3 separate regions of the Homo sapiens genome follow, and all the other regions are linked to region 3. Evidence: promoter capture Hi-C in human tissues and cell types (Jung and others, 2019). All regions are on one chromosome and are shown on one strand. Each heading gives the region's core, a stretch centred on a gene start or on the middle of the fragment in contact. The rest is flanking DNA. Distances are from core to core; before and after follow the strand shown.

Region 1 (4,029 bases), core at 234-2,733, 420 kb before region 3:
TACATGGAGGTCAGTTAAGAGAAGAGTCTAACATGTTGTAATTTTCCTTGCCTGTCTTCCTTGGTCGACTTCCAGTTCCTTGACAGTAAGGAAATCAGTCTTGTATGTGTTTGAGTTTAATCGCTGGTGCATGGTACAGTGCTTAGCATATAGTGAGTGCTCAAGAAAAATACTTGTTGAATGAATTCATGACTGGCCATATTGACCTCAAGTGAATTCTAATCATAAACATGGAAACCTTTGCAATATCTTTAAAAATGTCAAGGTTGGTATGGCCATTGCACATAATTTATTATTTCATTGGCTTTTCCCCTTCTCATTCCCTCAGTCTTTGAGTCTTTCTCTGCTCTGTGCCAACTTCCTTCAATTTATTGTGTATTACAAGCTACCTGTGTTTATTATCATTCCAGTTTCCTGACAAAGATGCAAAAAGAATGTGTAGCAGTTTGGCTGCAATGGCGCTCTGCCCAAAGAGAGATGAGATTCTTAGGAAAATACAAAGTAGTTCCTTAGTTCTCTATTCTAGAGCTTAACCAATCCCAGGAACTGAAGTCTTCTGTTTCTTCACAGAGGAAATATGACAAAGGCAGTGGCTGTACAAGCTTCCTTCATGGGCCGCCCTCCCCACTGCCTCATCCAGTAAGCGGGAGCAACTACTTCTAGAGGTGAGAGGGGAGGGAGGACAATCTCCATAACCCATTCGATGCACCCAGCTGCAAAATTTTGGTATTGAGAAACTGAGCAAACAATTTGTAGAGTTGCTATATTGAACTTTAAAGCAAAATAAGCCTACATAGGATTGAATGCTCAGGTGATACAAATGATGGTCTTTGATAGAAGCCTACAATCTATATTTTGAAAGAAGCTACTTATAGCTGTATAATTCCAATAATCCCAAGATCCTGTTTCTATAGATATTAAAAGGTATTATGCATGTACATTTGAGATGATTTTTAGCTTCCTAACCCATGAGAAAGTTCATCAGTAATATAATCATTATCATTTATTGAGCACTTACTATGTGCCAGGCACTATTTAAATTGTTTTTTCATTTGATTTTTCAATTTTTATAGTAAACATAGGGTATATCTCCATTTACAGACGGTCAAAGTGGGAGGCCATGAGAAGGTAAATGACTTGCTCTCAGTCACACAGGTAGTATGTAACAGAGTCAAAGCATCTACACCCATACTTGTCTAATTTTAAAGTTCTTAATCACTGATAGTATGCCTAGGGTCCTGTCACATATTTGAGCTCTTAAAATCTGTGCCTTTTTTGATGAGGGGTCAGTGACCGAGAGCAGCCTAGATCTGCTGAACATTGTATCAGGAACTGAGGTGATGTTCCATAAGGCATTTGTAGTGCGTACTCACAGAAAGCTTAAGACAGTTTGTCATTTTTACCAAGGACCAGGTCCCTCAAAAGGATGGTCTGTTTCTAAGGTTCTTTACGGAAGCAAATGAATGTTGAGTTCTTTTGGCCATTCATTCGCTCATTTATTCATCTAGTCATTCAGTAAACACTTATCTTTTTTTACTTGACAACTCATTGTATTTGAGTATCAGAGTCTCGGTTTTCAGGTTGAATTCATGTTTTGTGTTTATAAGAAGATAATGAAAATTCTTGAAGACATTCTCAAGCACAACAGAGGAAGGAGCACAGGGTTTGATTTCTACTTGTTTTTCAAGTGGGCTTCATCTGAGAACAAACTCTATTGTAACCTTTCTAGAATTTGGTGCCAATAAGAGTTAAAATAATAAAATCAGTACAATTAAATAGGAAATGAGTGTCTTTTATGTACAAGGCCTTAGATTAGGTAACAACAGTTGGTCATTCCTCTGGGAAATGGTTGCTAAAATTATAATCAACTGGCAGTCACTGATTGGCCTTGTTTACTTCATTGTGTCCCAGGAAAAAAAAGACAATCTCCTCTTATGACAAGATCTTGCAGAGATAATACCATTTCCGCCATAATCTTCATCCCCCTCCCATTTTCTTCTTTCTTTTCTTTTTCTTTTTCTTTTTTTTTTTTTCTTTTTTTTTTTTTTGAGACAGTCTCGCTGTGTCACTCAGGCTGGAGTGCAGTGATGTGATATCGGCTCACTGCAACCTCCGCACACCAGGTTCAATCGATTGTCATGTCTCAGTCTCCCAAGTAGCTGGCATTATAGGCGTGTGCCACCATGCCCACTAACTTTTGTATTTTTAGTAAAGACGAGGTTCCACCATGTTGGCCAGGCTGGTTTTGAACCCCTGACCTCAAATGATCCACCCGCCTCGGCCTCCCAAAATGCTGGGATTACAGGCATGAGCCACCGTGCCCGGCCCCCACTCCTATTTTCTTAAGATTAATTTGAGCTATTTAGTTAAGCTTTATTAAAAGTATTGGCCAGGCATGGTGGCTCACACCTGTAATCCCAGTACTTTAGGATGCTGAGGCAGGTGGATCACCTGGTCAGGAGTTCAAGACCAGCTTGGCCAACATGGCGAAACCCCATCTCTACTTAAAAAAAAAAAAAAAAAAATAGGCGGGCGTGGTGGCCAGCACCTGTAATCCCAGCTCCTCAGGAGGCTGAGGAGAATCACTTGAACCCAGGTGGCAGAGGTTGCAGTGAGCTGAGATGGTGCCACTGCACTCCAGCCTGGGTGACAGAGCAAAACTCCGTCTCAAAATAAATAAATAAATACATAAATAATCTACCAGACACTGTGCTAGTTTCTAAGGCTTTAGATGTGAAAGAGAACCCTTCCTTCAATAATCTCACAGAGGACTAAAAATTCAGAGGAGCCAGGCACGGTGGCTCACGCCTGTAATCCCAGCACTTTGGGAGGCTGAGGCGGGTGGATCACGAGGTTCAGGAGATAGAGACCAGCCTGGCTAACACGATGAAACCCCGTCTCTACTAAAAATACAAAAAAAAATTAGCCAGGCATGGCGGCACGTGCCTGTAGTCCCAGCTACTAGGGAGGCTGAGGCGGGAGAATCCCTTGAACCTGGGAGGCGGAGGTTGCAGTGAGCCAAGATCACGCCACTGCACTCTAGCCTGGGAGACAGAGCAAGACTCCGTCTCAAAAAAAAAAAAAATAATCTCAGAGGAGAGTGAGATAGTTATTAATACAGGGTAATAAGTGCCCTAATGGAGCCAATGAAGGCTTTGTGGGAACAGTGACAGGCACCAAACCCAGCTGGTCTAGGTGAGGTTAGGAAGACTTCCAAGATGAGATGATGCTTACATTGAATATTTGAGGGAGAATAAGAGTAAAGAAGCCAAGGGGAGGCCAGTGTTTATGGCAAAGAGAACAGTGAAATAGCATATCTAGTTTGGGGAATTGGAAAATGTATGCTCTTGGATGGAATGAGCAAAGCTATGGGAGATGTGGCTAGAGAAGGATCCCATCATGACGGGCTTTGAATGCCATCCCAAAGAACTTAAACGTTCCTAAATGCAGTGGGAAGTTATGGAAGAATTTTAAGCAGAGGAGTAACATGTTCAGATTTGGTCTTTAATAAGATTACTATGGCATCAGTGAGGTGGCCTTGAGGAAATTACATTAAAGTTAGGTACATTAGAAGTAATGAGGACTTGGAATTTAGGTGAACTGGTGATAGGGATGGAGACTATGAAATAATCAATATTGGCTGGACATGGTGGCTCATGCCTATAATCTCAGCACTTTGGGAGGCCGAGGCAGGTGGATCACTTGAGGTCAGGAGTTCAAGACCAGCCTGGCCAACACGGTGAAACCCAGTCTCTACTAAAAATACAAAAAATTAGCCAGGCGTGGTGGCACACCTGTAGTCCCAGCCACTTGTGAGGTGGGAGAATTGCTTGAGCCTGGGAGGCGGAGGCTGCAGTGAGCTGAGATCATGCCACTGCACTCCAGCCTGGGCAACAGAGTGAGGCTCCCTCTTGGCAGGGGGGGAAGTCGATATTTAGGAGGCAGTCTTAAATTTAGAACCTAACACAATGTTAGGTACCAATATGTCATAGCCGGATGAAACTAGAGGGAAAAGAGGCATCTAAGTTG
Region 2 (4,139 bases), core at 1,396-3,895, 390 kb after region 3:
TTTATTCCTCCCACCTGGCCTCTGGTAGCCGCCATTCTACTCTTCACTACCTCTGTGAGATCTACTCTTTTTAGCTCTCACCTATGAGTGAGGACAGCAATATTCGTCTTTCCGTCTTTCCGCACCTGGCTTATTTCACTTAACATAATGACCTCCAGTTCCATCCACGTTGCTGCAAATGACAGGGTGTCATTTGTTTGTTTATTGTTTCCTTTCCCACACCAGAATGTAAGCTCTAAACGGGCAGGGATTTTTATCTGCCCTGCTGTGTTCCCAGCGCTTGACACATAGTAAACATTCAAATATTGACTGAATGAAACAATGAATGAATGAATATGAGTAAGTATCAGCTTGCCAAAGGCTGAACAATCCAAGGTCATTCTTGGTAAGTGTTAAATGAGAGGTAAAACAGTTAACATTATAAAAATTCGTAGACTGGAAATGTCATTTTAAGATGAGAGGTCAGGGAAGCTTCCAGGAGATGGCAGAAACTGAGCAAAATCAAGAAGGATGATAACGCTGGTGATAGCAATAGTGCCGTTTATGGAACAGTTATCATATGAGTAACAACCATATGGGTTAGGTAGTAGTATTATTATACCCATTTTACTTAGGAAACTGAGGCCCAGGAGGTGAAGAAACTTGGCCAAGTGAAACAAGCTAATGAGTGGCAGGGCTGTGATTCATAGCCAGCTTCAGAGCCACAGCCCATGACAGCAGCTGCCGATGCTCTGCCCCTATCCTCTTGCCCTCAACTTCCAACTGCTGGCACCCAAGTCCCTCTCTTAGTGCTTACTCTGGTTTCCAGAGCCTGGTTTTGCCTAAGCAAGCATGGGGCTGAAAATACCAGGAACTTAAACTCCTCCATGCTCCCTACCACAGTGCCATGCTATCCACCATCCCCAAGAGGAGGATGTGGAGACTGGCAGCTGAACCCTCTGAAGGGCCAGGCCTTCAAAAGTGGCCCTGGGCAAGAGTTCAAGGGGAATACAAATTTGAACCTGCAAATAGAGGCCAGACCTTGGCACAGATCTGTTCCTATAGCAAGCTTGTTATCATATCTTAACATCCGCTCCAACCACATCATGTTTTCAGGGAGGGGCTCAGAGGGAGGGTCACATGGGCAGGTGACCTGGGGTTTAATTCAGCCCTTTGGGGTTTTATCCAGGACCTATGTGACGAGCTCCCTAGCTCCCCATCCCCTAGGGAAGCTGTCAGATAAAGCCGTCGGGCTTTGTTCCTGAAGAGATCTGGGATGCAACCCTGGCTCCCACTGTTGCTGCCAGTGATGGGGCAAGATGCTGCACCTCCCTGAGCCTCAGTTTCCTCCCCTATAAAACACAGATGATGACCAGGGTTTGCTGTGGGGATTAAATGAGACAAGTGCCTGCATCTAAAATGGACTCCACCCATACATTCTCTAACCTGACATCCCCACTTCCCCTGCCTGGGAGCTGCCACGTTCAGAAATAACAAAAAACATGAGGCTGCTTGCTTCAAGTTGCCAATGAGTGATGACTAAAGTCAGTAATTAATCCCAGCTTGAGACCAAAGTGCAGACATTGTTCTATTACGGACCTTAACTCTGCAAGAGAAGCATCAGTTTGCCAGCCCACTGAGGCTCTGACCAGCAGAAATCCCTGGGCTGCCACCTCTGGGAATCTCACACTCATCAAGAAGTGATTCTATCCCTTCTGGGTGCCAGGCACTGCGCTGAGGGCTCAACTAATCTGTTCCAGCCCAGGAGGCAGAATTCAGGACAGAGTTTCACCCTCTCGGAGCTCCACTGCCAGCCCCATGCCAGGCCGGCCAGGCCTCCTCCTCTGTTGTTACAGAGAGAAATTCTCCCACACAGGCAAGTCCCTTAAAATAGCCTTTTGGGTCTGGGCCATCAGGAAATGGGATAACGCTGGGTCAGAATTGGGCCTATCATGAAAGAGTTTACAAAGCAGTCACTTCAAAGGACAGGGACAATCCCTATATGCTCTGAACACTTAGATGGGCAAAAGCAACCAGGGCAAGTTCCCCATGAGGAGCACCTTCTCACAGAAGCCCCTGTAGCCCTGGGTGCCCTGAAAAGGGACCAAGTGTGTAAGACACAGTGATGGTGTAGAACCAGGCGCAGGCTGGGGAAGGGGAGGGAGGTCACATCTGCCTGGGTTTGTGCTTTCTTAACAATGCTACCTGCACTCTCCAAACCTCAGGTTCCATATGAGTCAAATGGGGTTAAAAATGCATACCTTCATGGCCACCCTGGGGCCAGAGGTTATAAATCAAAGGCCATGCAATGCCTGGCACAAAATGGGAATTCAATATGTGGTAGCTGTGTCAGAGGCATGTGAACCAGAGCAACTCCATCTTGAATAAGGGCTGGGTAAAACAAGGCTGAAACCTACTGGGCTGCATTCCCAGATGTTTAGCCATTCTAAGTCACAGAATGAGACAGGAGGTCAGCAGAAGATACAGGTCATAAAGACCTTGCTGATAAAATAGTATGCAGTAGGCTGGGCGTGGTGGCTCACACCTGTAATCCCAGAACTTTGGGAGGCTGAGCCAGGCAGATCACCTGAGGTCAGGAGTTCGAGATCAGCCTGGCCAACACTGTGAAACCCCATCTCCACCAAAAAAAAAAAAACAAAAAATTAGCCGGGCATGGTGGTGTGCGCCTGTAATACCAGCTACTCGGGAAGCCGAGGCACGAGAATCACTTGAACCCAGGAAGTGGACGTTGCAGTGAGCCAAGATTGCGCCTCTGCACTCCAGCCTGGACGACAGAGCGAGACTTCATCTCAAAAAAAAAAAAAAAGAAAAAAGAAAAAGAAAAAGAAAAAAAGGGAAAACAGCATGCAGTAAAGAAGACGGCTAAAACCCACCAAAACCAAGATGGCAACGAGAGTGACCTCTGGTCATCCTGACTGCTATACTCCCACCAGCACCATGACAGTTTACAAATGCCATGGCAATGTCAGGAAGTTACCCTATATGGTCTCACAAGAGGAAGCATGAATAATACACCCCTGGTTTAGCATATCATCAGGAAATAACCATAAAAATGGGTAACCAGTGGCCCTCGGGGCTGCTCTGTCTATGGAGCAGCCATTCTTTTATTCCTTTACTTTCTTAATAAACTTGCCTTCACTTTACTCTATGGACTTGCCCTGAATTCTTTCTTGCTGGAGATCCAAGAACCCTCTCTGGGGGTCTGGATCGGGACCCCTTTCCTGTAACAGCTCTATGATGATGATGGTGATACAATACGTGCCAAGGTCTCCTTTAGTGAGAGTACGCCTCAAAAAAGGAAAACAACGTAGGTTCTCCATCAGGGACCACACAGTGATAGGCAAAAGTGCAAACCAGCCCACACTCCATCAATCCCTACCCCACCTGGTACACCCTGCAAGTTCATTCTCAACATGGGGCATTACTTCCATTCCTGACTCCCTGAAGTTGTGGTCAGATCAGGTAAGAGTGATCAGTTTCCAACAGGTCTAAAGTTCATGCTCCAGGGATCCCAGAAACAGGCTAAATTGTCCCACCCGCCCCACTGCATAATTTATGCTGCATTGACACACACACACAGAGTCTACCCCGACCCAGCCATGGGCCTCCGCCCAGGCTTGGGGAGGGTGGCTTCCTCGCCAGCCAAAGGGAAATGACAGCACAGGGACAGAGAAAGCAGCCCAGTGGAGTGGCAGAAACCACAGCTGTTTCCCCTTTGCTAACTCAGCCACTTAGATATCACTTCCTCCGCTCAGGTAACAGCAGGGAGAGATGGGACTGGGAATAACTCTGTCTTTTCCTGTTCACAAAAAAATGATTGGTTTGGAAAGAAGGAAAACCAGAGGCCGTTTTCTAGAAGAGATCTTCACTAAGAGCCTAAGTACTCCTGAGTCGACTCTGTCTATGAGGCTTCTCAGGAGAGGTGGCTGGGCAGGTGAACCTTGTTTAAAAATTCCCTGGGGTCAGGAACAACTCACTTTGTATAGCATCCCTGCCCTAGATAATTAAGAACCCAGACTGGGGGATCAAGGGACCTCCTCACACAGCTATCATCTCTGGGCTCAGTGCTTTCCAAAGCAGCTGTTATACCTGCCCTCCGCTCTGCAAGGCAAGCCTGAAAAGAAACAGTTGCACCATTT
Region 3 (4,645 bases), core at 1-2,500:
CTCTTCCGCAGCCGTGACCCCTCTCCTATCCAGCAGCCTCCCAGCAGCTCCGCTCCACCCCGCCTGCCAGCAACAGGAAGCCCTGGTGAGACCAAAGGCTCAGCGGTGCCACCAGCTCATCCGGAGATTATTCTGCCTTGGTCTGGGCTGTAGCGACGCTGGCAACCTGCCGGGAAGTGGCCATGGCCTCGGGCAACAGCGAAGTTTAGCCCAACTCCCTTCCCAGCCTCCACCCACACAAGCCTGAGAGACAGGCCAGGGTGTGGCCCCATGTCCTCCCCCTCTGGAGGGTGAAAAACAAAACTCCCCAGGCCAGAGGAAGCCAGGGAGTGGAGGGATGGGGTGAGCGCCAAACACAGACCTAGCCCTGTTCCCTTCCATGCTTCATGGAGGGATCACCCCTTCTAGATCACCCCTTCTGTCCCTGCCAAGGAAGGCTGCCAGATGGGCTCAGGCAGAGCCATGTGGCCATGCAGACTCCAAGAAAAGGAGAAGCTGGAGGAGGAGGACCAGGAGGAACAACAGGAGGAGGAGGAGGAGGAGGAGGAGGAGGAGGAGTCTGATTCTTCCCCCACTTCACAGCCTGGAGCTTCCAGCCTAACTTCCTGGGAAAGGCAGTTTGCATCACTGCTGGGGAAGAATGGGTTAAAGTCAGCCCCCTTTGCCCCATCCTTTTCCCTTCTTGGCTTCTAGGCTCCTAATTAGCTCCCTGTGGAGGCCCTGGGTTCATAAACTGGCTCAAAGTGGGGTACAAGATACCTGCACAGGGTGGGTGGTGAGCAGAGGATGGGCCAGGCCATCTTCTGAGACCACTGCCCCCAGGCCAAGGATGGGTCACATCCAGACCCCCAGTGGGACCTCCTCCAACATCAGTGACGACAGGAGACTGGCGGCTCGGGGAGGGGCAGGACTGCTCCCTGTTCAACCGGGTGGAGGGAACCTCAGCTAGGGGCCTCTCTCCCTCTGGGCAGCGTGGGACAGGCCCCACCATGCTCCGCTGACACCTGGCACACCCCAGGGAGGGCCCCTTCCTTACCTGGGGCCAGCTGTGGGCACTTGTGGCCATGGCCTCCTCGGGGCCGGACTCTCCAAGTGGCCTCCAGGAGGGCGGTGCAGGGCAGCGGCGGCCTCCGCCGTTCCCTCCCGCTTTTCTTCTGCACGGGGGCCTGGGGCTGGTGGCGGCTTCAGACTAATCTAACTCCAGAAAAGAGAGAAGAAAACAGTGGGATGGAGTCTGCGCGCCAGTGAGTGGAAAAACAGCCTCCCGGCGCCACCAGGCAGAGGAGGGCGGGCCCCGAGGGCGGCGCGAGAGGAGAGGAGCCGAGAGGAAGTTGAGATGCCTGTTCTGCAGCTGCTGCGCGTCCCACCGACCCGCTGCTCGCCGTCCCTGGGCCGTGCTGGCCCTCCGCCCTCGGCCCAGACCCGGACCGGGCCATGCTCCACACCAATGGGACCAGTCGGGAGGGCCACGTGGGGATGTGGAGGCATTGGGGAGATCTGACCCAGACCTGCCCCCCATGACAGTTTCAAGAGCACCCCACGTACTTGACCCCCGCTGGGCAGAAGCTACCAAAGGAGACCCCGCGAGGGTCAAGGGAGGGTGTCGTCAGGCCCGCGCTGAGCCCTGCAGGATGCTCAGGGCCAGGGCCCCACCCTCTACTGGCCCTTCTCCCTCAGAGTTGTCCATTGACTGGACAAACCATCCCCAATGCTGACTCTTTGACCTATAGTCAGCTAACTCCCCGGGACCTGCTTCGGATCCCTGGAGGGCTGAGGATTGAATTCAGGAGCCTAGGGATTCTCCGGGTCCTGCAGGCAGAGCTCCAACTGGTGGGTGAAAGTTACAAGGAGGCAGGTTTCTGAAGGAAGCCCTGTGTAATAATCAGAGCTGCCCAGCCTGTATCTAAAAGTGGTCAAGATGCGGGCTGAAGCGTCACGGGTCAGGAATGCTGCACAGGAGAGTCTACGGACAGGCTAGATGACCCTTAGCATGGAGGGAGAGGACCCCCGACATCTGTCAGCTCTGCAGTGCTCGTGGTTCCGTCATGGTGGAGCTGCCGAGTGACCCGCTGGCCTCCCTGAGCTGGGCTTGACCATATGTACGAAGGAAAGAAAAGGTACCAAGTTCTGCTTGTTTATTTGTTTGTTTCAGATCCCAGCATGTGCTAAACACAGTCCCAGATCCTTCCCTAAAAGTTATCTTCCTCTATCCTTACCACAATCCTGAAAATCAGGTCTTTTTTAAAAAATAATTTTTTCATTTTAAAAAAATTATAAATCTTCTCTTTATTCTTCTTCTTCTTCTTATTATTATTATTACTTTACAGAGACAGAGTCTTGCTATGTTGCCCAGGCTGGTCTCCAACTCCCAGGCTCAAGTGATCCTCCCTCCTTGGCCTCCCAAGTGCTGGGATTACAGGCATGAGCCACTCCGCCTGGCCAAGCAGGTCTTCTAATATCCATTTTATAGACAGACACACTGAGGCTTAGAGTGGCTGGGTGACTGGCCACAAGTCCTGCAGTGCTGGTATTTGAACTCAGGTGTGCCTGACCCAAAGCTTTGCTCTTCATCACATTTGTACCTCCTGATACCTCCGGGCCTTCTCTTCCCACTGGAAGTGCTGCCACCCACCAACATACACCTTGTTTTTTGCTCATCCTAATCCTCCCTGACTTCAGGGCCCATACCAACTCCTACCTCCTGGAAGAGCCCTCCCAGCCCACCTTGGCCCACAAAGATCTGAGCAACTCCTCCCAAATAATTAAGAGGAGGGAAACTGGACCCCAGAAGTGGGAATAGAGGGAAGGATGGATAAAAAAGGATGGAATCATGCCAAGATCAAAATGAATCCTTAGATGCTTGGGACTTATGTCTCAGAGCTGAGGGCGGTGCTGAGAAACCTATCTGTACCTCTGTTTCCTCCTCAACAAGATGGAAGCTCGAGTGTTTGTGTTGCTGTCTCATCCCTGCCCAGGGGAGGAGGAAGGAAGTCCTTAGGTTCAGAAATCAACAAATACATTAGCCACCCTGTGCTGGGTGCCTACTATGTGCCATGTGCTTTTACACACAGCAACCCCATGATGGCGGGCCGGGGGGGCCTCATCCTCATTGTATAGATGAAGAAACGAAGGCACAGGCAGTGATGCAGCTGGCCCAGGGACAGGGTTTGTGAGTGGTAGAGACACCATTTGACCCAGTTCTGTCTCACTCTGGAATCTGAGCTGCTTTCTCTTTACACTGCTCTCCTCCACCCTCATCCCACCTGGGCTAGAGCCTTGGAGCTCCTCTTAGCCTCTTAGAACTCCATCCCCAAGAGGTGGGGTCTTTGAGAAAAATGGAGAGACTTCAGCTTCTGTGTCTAACTTCTCAAGCCTTGGGGATGGTCTGATTTCCCCTGGAGACCTGGATGTGACGGGGGTATTAAGGTGGTTTTTCAAAGACCCCTCTACAGGAGGACTTTTGTGCTTGGTTTGTGCTAAATAAACATGCAGTCCACCTGGACAATTGTCACATGACCCCCATGGTGACCACACACTCTGACCTCTTCCATGTGAACCTAGCTTCTGACATCTTGTCTCATCGCCTGTCACCCCAGGTGTGTCACACCAGGTAGGCTGTGTGTCATGTCCTTATGGACCTGCCCCGGCACACCCAGTCTCACCTACGACACGCTTGCCCAAATCAGAGGGCTCCCACTTCATGAGACGCCTGATGATTCCCACTCCCCGAGCCCGGAGCATAAAGGAAGAGAGGTACTGAACAGCCACAGACGAGGGTGGACCCTGGGGCAGGGATGTCTGTTGAACCTGGGAGGAGACAGTGAACATCAGCCTGGGAAGGGCTGGGCAGAGGGGAGCCATTGGTCCCTGTACCTGCCATGACAGTTCCGACCCCTTTAGACTAATACTGCTCATGGGCCCACTGCCCTAGGGCCATCCAGGGCAGTGTCACACCTGAAGGCATCAGATCCCCTTCCAGCTCCAAATTTCCTGCCTCCAATGGGCAGGCGAGTGCTAGGGAGTGTGGATCTGCCTAGGGGAGTACTGCCCAGCACTGAAACCCTTCCTTTTTCCACCTGGTTTGGGGGTTGGAGGGGCTGTGGGCTCAGATCCCCGTTCCTGCCTCTTCAGCTGGCCACACCTCACACTTTGCTGAAGTAGGTGGCCACCTCCTTACGCGGAGGCCGGGGCCCACCCCCAGCCCAGCCGTTGCCCATCAGCGGTGGCTCCTCCTGGCCCAGCCGCAGAGGCGGTTTGCATTTGTGCCAGCTCGTGAGCAGCCTGTTCATGGTGCCTTGATCCGTGATGCCACGCAGCTTCTCCCTTTCCTCCTCCGCACCATCGGGGGTCGTGGGGGCAGCTGCGGAAGCAGGGGCCGTGGCCAGTGTCCCGTGGGTGTGACCCAGCTCCAGGTCATGGTTCATGGCCTCGAAGAACTGCTGGATGCAGACCTTGGCAAAGGCTTTGGCGTGCTCCGTGCACGTCTCGTCGAAGAGCTTGCGCTCGATGTCGATATAGTGGGACCAGTACTTGCTCTTGAGGAAGGCGGCCTGCGTGAAGCAGGGCCGCACAGAGCGCACCACGAATGCCAGCAGAGTGGTCAGCAGCACGAAGGACCAGCCCAGCGCCTGTGGGAAGATGAGAG

What was found. The method cuts DNA at HindIII sites, captures the fragments that hold promoters and counts their contacts. A contact is called where the count stands out against the background at its distance.
Region 1: a fragment that was not itself captured here is called in contact with the fragment with the promoter of CALHM2 in region 3 in 1 of the 25 tissues and cell types used here (spleen).
Region 2: a contact is called between a fragment that was not itself captured here and the fragment with the promoter of CALHM2 in region 3, in 1 of the 25 tissues and cell types used here (mesenchymal stem cells).

What each region holds. Positions count from the first base shown.
Region 1 is chr10:103,026,795-103,030,823 of GRCh38, forward strand. All of the region lies in intron 1 of CNNM2 (cyclin and CBS domain divalent metal cation transport mediator 2), which reads left to right. Among named protein-coding and RNA genes, the nearest start is that of CNNM2, 110 kb to the left of the region's middle. The HindIII fragment of the contact is 3,746 bases long and covers 1-3,356 here.
Region 2 is chr10:103,842,540-103,846,678 of GRCh38, forward strand. The region is part of intron 1 of SH3PXD2A (SH3 and PX domains 2A); the gene reads right to left. Among named protein-coding and RNA genes, the nearest start is that of SH3PXD2A, 11 kb to the right of the region's middle. The HindIII fragment of the contact is 7,884 bases long and covers 1-4,139 here.
Region 3 is chr10:103,451,120-103,455,764 of GRCh38, forward strand. CALHM2 (calcium homeostasis modulator family member 2) reads right to left here and starts at 1,251. Exons shown (of 4, transcript NM_015916.5): 1 at 1,037-1,251; 2 at 1-166. CALHM1 (calcium homeostasis modulator 1) reads right to left here. Exons shown (of 2, transcript NM_001001412.4): 2 at 2,121-4,628. The coding sequence ends at 4,143. LOC124902494 (a long non-coding RNA gene) reads left to right here and starts at 1,324. Exons shown (of 2, transcript XR_007062275.1): 1 at 1,324-2,117. RefSeq lists enhancers at 1-293, 242-862, 863-1,484 and a silencer at 1,323-1,652. The HindIII fragment of the contact is 12,335 bases long and covers 1-3,809 here.